2 separate regions of the Homo sapiens genome follow, and region 2 is linked to region 1. The links are contacts of gene promoters, found by promoter capture Hi-C in blood cells and fetal thymus (Javierre and others, 2016). All regions are on one chromosome and are shown on one strand. The core of a region is centred on a gene start or on the middle of the fragment in contact, and the rest is flanking DNA. Distances in the headings are between cores, read along the strand shown. Region 1 holds the start of DHX35 (DEAH-box helicase 35). Region 2 overlaps TTI1 (TELO2 interacting protein 1).

Region 1 (3,842 bases), core at 312-2,811:
CTGACTCTAGAGCTCATCTTCTTTACCACCACCTTACTCTGTCTCATTGTAAAATCTCTTCTAGAGGACATCTAACTTTATATTCAATTAAGAGAGAGACAGTAACTTGAGAGCAGAGCCCTGAGCATCTGTATTTGTCTCCTGAACACAGGATTAGGTTTTCAATAAGTGTACCCTCAATGGATGAACTAAATAATGAAATAGAACTCTTAAGAGTAATTCCACGTTCTTTAACCAAAATAGTACCCTGGTCTGATTTCAAACAATTAATTCAGCTCTTTATTATACCTAACACTTTCACCTGTTACTAAAAGCGTGAATAAATTAAAAGTATTCATTACTTAGTAAGTTCCTAGTTTTGGATGCAAATAAAACTCAGGATGGATAATTGGCTGATGACTTGAAATGCTGAACCATAAAACTGTCAAGTGACAGACTACAAATTTTTAAAAAGCATTAAACATATCTCTTGCTTGGGTTTATCTCTCACATCACTTATATGCATGGTCAGAATTTCAGAGAACCACTGAAAAATTAAAAGCTTTGCTTATATTACATTCTTGGTGTCATTTCATTTTTGCTGCAATATACTTTGCACATCCAGACCTGCAGGGGTGCAGGTGGTAGAAAAAAATCAAGCTGGTAGCTGTAATTTAAAAACTTTTGTTTTTTACAAGAAACTGTTTGCAGAGAGGAAGTAATGCATCTAGTACGGTCTGGCATATGCACATTCAGTAAAAACCTGATTAATGAGTAAATATCAAGACAAAACAAGTAAAGCATTTTGTGATTGTGATTCGTGTTAGTCTGTAAGAGAGGAAGTGGCTGGCAGCCAATATGAAGGACTGTTCCCTTTTCTAGTAGACATTCGGAGTGGACAACAATTATCCTAAAAGAAAATAACACACTTTCCCTTTTTTTGAGCATTTATTCTAAGTCTGACAACGCGTTCTGCTTGTCATTTAAGCCCACAGCATAGAAGCTATTGTTCTGCCCACTTTACAGGTAAAGAAGTCATGGCTCAGAGGCATTAAGTGACTCGCCCAAGGTCACCCTACTACAAGGCAGAGACGAAAATTCGAACCCGGACAGTCTGACTCCATAACTTGGGCTTGCAAGCCTCCAGCAGCGAGCAGCATTGTCTGTCGGGCCACAGCGCAACCCCAGGGCGCTAACGAGACACGAGAGGGAGCTTTAGGATTCCCCATCTCGCGGGGTGGGCAGGACAAGCATCAGTAACGAGGAAGACGAGGCCTGAGGAGGCTGGACCACTTTAACAAGGTCACAAAGAGTTTCTGCTCACGCTAGGGGAGCACCCCCAAATCCCTCGGGACCACTGGGGAGCCTGAGCCAGAGCTCCCCCCGCACAGAGGCGGCAGCGCCCAGCTCGCCGAGGTCAGGCCTGCGAGCAGGTCTGCTGGCCCCAGGGCGCCGGCCGCGGCGCCAAGACCGAAGTCAGGCCGCCGCATCTGCCCAGCGTTCCACCAAGGGCCTTACCGGGTCGCCAGAACTTCACCGGTCCCACGGGCGCAGCCATGTTGGGGTAAAAGGTCACGAGGCTAGCTCCACCCCACCGTCGCGCGCTAGGCCCCCAGGGCCCGGAGGGCGTGGCCCCCGAAGAGCCGCTGCCCAGACGGATCGCGCCGTGTGACGGCCACGCCCCCACAGCTACCGCCCCCGTCTGAGCCACGTGACCCACTTCCAGGCTCCGGCGAGCGCACCGGCCCCGCCCCCGAGCCCACGTGACCCTGCTCAGCCATTTTGGAGAAAAGGGCGCGCTCCTCCGCCTACCTCTTGAGCGTGGAGGGTAGATGCTTCAGGTGACCTTTTACGAGCGTGGCGTGTCCTGGATGGCGGCCGCACACTTAGGAAGAACGGGCTTTGGGAGAGGACCGCTGGCCCGAGAGTGGAACCTTGCACGCACTGGGCGTTGAAGCAGTGCTTTCTGGATTAAATACGAAATACTGATGTCACAAGCTACCTCAACTTGTCGACTTCTGTTTTATTCTCAATTTCAAATTGAAGGGTAATAATAGGAACTACCTCGTGGGTTGTATTTGTCAGTAAATATTGCGCGCCTGCTGTGGGCCCAGGTAGTGCGGCACAGTGCCCCAAATAAAACAATGCGAAATGATATGGAAGTCTTCAGGGACCTTGAGGGCAAAACGGAAAAACGGACTGGGGGTGGGGTGGAGCGAATGGGTTGGCAGAAGAGACTGAAAATGGGTAGATCAATTAAGGTAGTCCACCAACTCAGTGCTTCCTCCAATTTGATACCCTTGAGTCAAATGCTTGTTAAAAACACAGATTCTAGGCCTTGATCCAATTCTGAATCGATGTCCTGGAGCATGGCTTGGGAACCTGCATTTTGAGAAGCTCCTGAATTCTTCAGATTAACAAATTTGGGAAAGATTACACTAATCCATCAGACGAAAGGTGAGGTCAAAGAAAAAGAAATTACAGTAATCCAAAGGAGCGCTAAGAAGGGGTGATGAGCTCAAGTGGAGGAAATAACTTTCTAGGTAGGCAACTAATTGGAAGGAAGTGAGAGGCTTCAGAATCTATGCATTTTTAAAGCTGTGAAGAAAATTCTGAATTCTTTGAAAGAAGTGGCATCATTATGGCAAGAGCAGGGGCTTTTGTGGACAACCAGTCCAGACTTGGAATCGTAACTTTGCCATTTCCTAGCTCCTAGCTGTCATTTAATTTTAGTTGTAAAATGAGGTTTAAAGAGGTATTACATGAGATAACATGTAAAGTACCTAACAGTGCAAAACATAGCAGGCACTGAATCAATGTTAGCTCTCATTACCTCAACTCAGAGCAAATCCACCAGGGGGAAAAAAATCTGAATTTACCTGCATAGGTTCATGTAAGAATCTTCTTTGATTTATTTTTATAGTAATTAATGTAGGGACTCAATATCTGTTAGTCCCTCGGCCTAGAATTCTCCATCCATCCTTTAAATTATCTTTATCCCTTAAAGGGCTAGCTCTAAATTATCTATCCAACTTAAACATTCCCCCTTGTAGTCTAGGAACTGTATTCTCACTTTTGTGAGAAAAGTGACCTGTAGTTTAGTTGCCTGTAGTTTACCTGCCGCCACTATTACACAGGGAACTTACTGAGGACGAGGACCATGTCACATTCACATTCGTGGCCCAGTAACAAGTGCCTATTGAGTGTAGATAAACATCATGCTTTAGGCTTAGTTTTAGTTGATCTGTAGTTTACCTGCCGCCACTATTACACAGGGAACTTACTGAGGACGAGGACCATGTCACATTCACATTCGTAGCCCAGTAACAAGTGCCTATTGAGTGTAGATAAACATCATGCTTTAGGCTTAGTTTTAGTTGATCTGTAGTTTACCTGCCGCCACTATTACACAGGGAACTTACTGAAGACAAGGACCATGTCAGCATTCACATTCACATTCACATTCGTAGCCCAATAACAGTGCCTATTGAGTAATGTATAGATAAACATCATGCTTTAGGCTTAGTTTTAGTTGATCTGTGGTTTACCTGCCGCCACTATTACACAGGGAACTTACTGAGGACGAGGACCATGGCACATTCACATTCGTAGCCCAGTAGCAGTGCCTATTGAGTAATATACAGATAAACATCATGCTTTAGGCTTAGTTTTAGTTCTTCATGACATTGATTTTTCCTTGTTTTATTTTTGTCTTATTTTACTAACAGCCCAAATACGGAAACCAAGGTTTATACATGAATATAAGGCAAAATGAAATAAATGCCACTTTTAAGATTATTTCATGGCCTGGCACGGTGGCTCACACCTGTAATCCCAGCACTTTGGGAGACTGAGGCAGGCAG
Region 2 (4,195 bases), core at 1,323-3,822, 930 kb after region 1:
ACATAAGAGGGTTTTAAAATTTCCTGATCGTGGTATAACTTCCTAGTTGTGGGCAGACTCTAGTTTAGGAGACGTTCTTCTAGTTGATGCCTGCTTTTGCTCTTATTGCACTGTATTGCAGTTCTTTGCTTACATGCTTTTACCCTTCCTCCAGACTGGAATCATAATCATAGCTAACGCAGTGAGAGGTTACTATGTGCTAGACACAATTCCCACACAGTAACTCATTTAATCCTCACAACAAAGCTGTGAGGTATTATATTATCCCCCTTTGGACAGCGTAGGAAACAGGCTCAGAGAGGTTAAGTGACCTACCCAAGATCACATTACTAAGACTTGAGGGAAGGGGCTGCAACTTAGCCATCTTTTTGGCCCCAGTTCCTGATTTATCAAGTGAGTTAGTGTAAAAGAGGTGAGTAACCTAAAATCATACAGTGAGTATCTAGTCATAACTGAGGGCTTTTGTGTCGAAATCTAGATCATCTTTCCATATTAATAACACTGTCATATACTGAGCACTTTTATACCAAGTCACTGTCTATTAAGCACATTACATACTTTTTAAATTTAATTCTTACATCAGTCTTAGGAGTTGAAATTATTACAATCACTATTTGATAGACGAGAAAATGTAAAGCATGGTTAAGTACCCTATGTACTTGGACATAGTTAGGAAATAGCAGAGCCAGGAGTCAAATTAGGGTTATCTTATGTCTGATCCCAAATTCTTGCCTCCTGAACCAATAGTTTATTCATTCATTCGGAAAATAATTTTTCAGCACCTATGTCCAAAGCACTCTTCTAAGCTAACAGACAAAATCCACGTTCTCAGGAACTTACTTTCTACTGAGAAAGATAGAAAAACAAACATGCAAGTTTAGAATAAGTCAGAAAGTGGTAAGTAACTTCAATAAAAATCAAGGAGATAAGGAGGATAAGGAATGTATATGTGTAGGTGGGTAGTCTTTTACTTATGCTTCTCAGAGAAGGCCTCATTGATAAGATGTCATTTGAGAGACAAGCCATATGCCATTGTTCCAGGAAGAGGGAAAACCAAGTTTATACCATTGTTGGCATTTTGGAGCAACAGCAGAGAGGACAATAAAGCTGGAGTGATATGAACTAGAAGGGTGGCTGGAAATTAGTTCAGAAAAGTACGAAGGGACTGCATCACATGGTGACTTGTAGGCAATAGTATAGACTTTAGATGTTACTCTGAATGAAATGAAGTCCACTGGGCAGTTTTGCACAAAGAAGGAGCATTGTGGCTGTTAGGTAGAAAATAAGACAGTAAGAGTGCAAAGGTAGAAGCAGGAAGGACCAGTTTGGCAGCTGTTGTAGTAACCCAGGTGAAAGGATAACTCAAACCAGGGTGGTATCTGTGGAAGTGGTAAGAAAGGGACAGTTCTGGGGATATTTTAGAGGAAGAGGTAACAGGATCCGCTGATAGATTGGATATGGGGTGTGAAAGACATATGAGAGTTGAGATAGCTCCAAGGGTTTTGGCCTAAGCAACTATAAGAATAGCGCTTCCATTTACTGAATTACAGAAAAGAGTGGGTTTGGAGAGTAAGAGCAAGCATTTGTATTTGGACATGTCCATTTGGAAATGCCTATCTGAGTATAGATGTCTAAGGGGCAGTTGGGTTTATGGGTCTGGAATTCAAGGAAGAGCTATCTGGGTTAGAGATAAAAATGTGAGAGTCATAACGGAATAAGGTGTAAAAAGAGACTGAGTCCTAGGATTCTTCAACATATAGAGGTCTGAAAGGTGAGGATGATATGATTATGTGATTTTTCTTCTTAAGCTTGTTAATAGCTTGTTAGTATTAACAACTCTAATTGATTTTCAAATATTGAGCCAGTCTTGCATCTCTGAAATATACCCCACTTTATCATGGTGTGTGTGTGTGTGTGTGTGTGTGTGTGTGTGTTTTACATACTGCTGAATTTCCTAATATTTTCTTTAGGATTTTTGCATCTATACTCATGAGAGAAATTGGTCTATAGATTTTTTTAATTTTTGTATTGCCTTTGGTTTGGTATCAGGATAATACTGGCTTTATAAAATGGATTGGAAAGTGTTTCTTCTTTTTCTAGAAGAGTATGTGCAGAATTGGTGTTAATTCTTCATTAAATGTTTGGCGGAATTCTCCAATGAAACCATCTTGGTTTGGAGATTCCCTCCACTCCCTGCTTCCCTCCCTCCCTCCTTCCTCCTTCCTCCCTCCTCCCTCCCTCCCTTCCTTCCCTTCTTCCTTTTTTTTCTGGAGTTTTTAAGTGACAAATTCAGTTTATTTAAAAGTTATAAAGCTGTTAAAATAATCTCTTTCCTATTGTGGTTGTGTTTTTTGAGGAATTAACCACTTCATCAAAGTTGTCAAATTTATATGGGTAAAGCTATTTGTGGTATTCCCTGTCTTTGTTTTCTGTTGCTTATAACAGAATACCTGAAACTGGGTAATTTATAAAGAAAAAGGATGTATTTCTTACAGTTATGGAGGCTGAGAAATCCAAGGTCACAGGGCCACATCAGGTAAAAAACTTTCTTGCTGGTGGGGACTCTGCAGAGTCCCAAGGCAGTGCAGGATATCACAGGGCCAGGGGGCTGAGTGTGCTAGCTGAGGTCTGTTTTGCTCTTATAAAGCCACCAGTTCCCATGATAACCCATTAATCCATTTATGAGGGCTTATAAAGACTCCACTTCTCAATACATTGGGAATTAAATTTCAACATGAGTTTTGGAAGGGACGGATATTCAAACCATAGCATTCCCATATTACCCTTTGATGTCTGCAGGGTCTGTAGTACTGTCCCGTTTCATTACTGATATTGGAAATTTCCAGTATCAGTGTCTCGTCTCTTCTCTCTCCTCTCTCTCTCTCTCTCTCTCTTGCTCACTCACTCCCTTGTCAATCTTGCTAGAAGTTTGTCAATTTTATTGACCTTTTCAAAGAACCAGTTATTTATTTCATTGACTTTCTGTGTTTTCTGTTTTCAGTTTTGTCAGTTTCTGCTCCTTATTATTTCTTCTGCTTGCTTTATTTTGCTCTACTTTGTCTAGGTTCTTGTGGTAGGAGTTTACCTTTTTCGTTTGAGACTTTTCCCCTTTTCTAATATATGACTTAGTACTATTAATTTACATCTCAGCATGGCTATAGCTGTATCCACAGATTTTGGTGTGTCATATTTTCATTTTCATTCATTTCCCTATTTTTTTTCTAATTTCCCTTAAGGTTTCCTCTCTGTTCCGTGGATTATTTAGAAACATGTTGTTTAGTTTCCAAGTATTTGGAGATTTTCCTGTTATCTCTGTGTTAGTGATTTCAAGCTTGATTTCATTGTGGCTGGGGAATGTCACTCTGTATGATTTCAGTTCTTTTAAATTTGTTGAGGTTTGTTTTATGGCAGGATAATCATCTGTCTTATGTTCTATGAGCACTTGAAAAGAATGTGGGCTAGGCACTGTAGCTCATGCCTGTAATCTTAACACTTTGGGAGGTCAAGGCAGGAGGATCACTTGAGCCTAGGAGTTCAAGAACAGCCTGGGCAACATGGCGAAACTCGGTCTTTAAAAAATACAAAAATTAGCTGGGCATAGTGGCATGCACCTGGAGTCCCAGCCACTCAGAACGCTGAGGTGGGAGGATTGCTTGAGCTCAGGAAATTGAGGCTGCAGTGAGCCATCATCGAGCCACTGCACTGCAGCCTGAGCAATAGAGTGAGATCCTGTCTAAAAAAACAAATAACAACAACAAAAGAATGTGTAGTCTGCTATTGTAGGATGGAGTGTTCTATAAATGTCATAGGTCCTGTTGGTTGATGGTGGTGGTTTTTCTATATCCTTGTGGATTTTTGGTCTAGTTATCCTATCCATTGTTGAGAGAGGAATATTGAAGTCACCACCATCTATTGTGAATTTGTTTCTCCTTTTAGTTTTATCCATTTTTGTTTCACACATTTTACAGCATATACATTTTAAGATTGCAGTATGTTCTTAGTAGATATACCTGTTATTCATTGTACTCTGTCTCTGGTAATTTTTTTTCTTTTGCTCTGAAGTCTACTTTATCTGGTGCTAATATAGCTACTTCTACTTTCCTTTGATTAATGCTTACATGATAATATCTTTTTCCATCCTTTGATTTTCAATCAGCCTCTATAATTCTGCATAGTGAGTTTCTTATAGACAGCG

What was found. Contacts are between HindIII fragments. The CHiCAGO score rates a contact against its expected background, and 5 or more counts as called.
Region 2: a contact is called between a fragment that was not itself captured here and the fragment with the promoter of DHX35 in region 1, in 4 of 17 cell types (neutrophils, total CD8 T cells, total CD4 T cells and 1 more). The highest score is 6.8, in neutrophils.

What each region holds. Positions count from the first base shown.
Region 1 is chr20:38,960,063-38,963,904 of GRCh38, reverse strand. It overlaps DHX35 (DEAH-box helicase 35), which reads right to left and starts at 1,561. Exons shown (of 22, transcript NM_021931.4): 1 at 1,498-1,561. The coding sequence starts at 1,537. RefSeq lists an enhancer at 1,227-1,536 and a silencer at 1,577-1,696. The HindIII fragment of the contact is 4,420 bases long and covers 544-3,842 here.
Region 2 is chr20:38,028,268-38,032,462 of GRCh38, reverse strand. The region is part of intron 1 of TTI1 (TELO2 interacting protein 1); the gene reads left to right. Among named protein-coding and RNA genes, the nearest start is that of TTI1, 3.1 kb to the left of the region's middle. The HindIII fragment of the contact is 1,523 bases long and covers 1,811-3,333 here.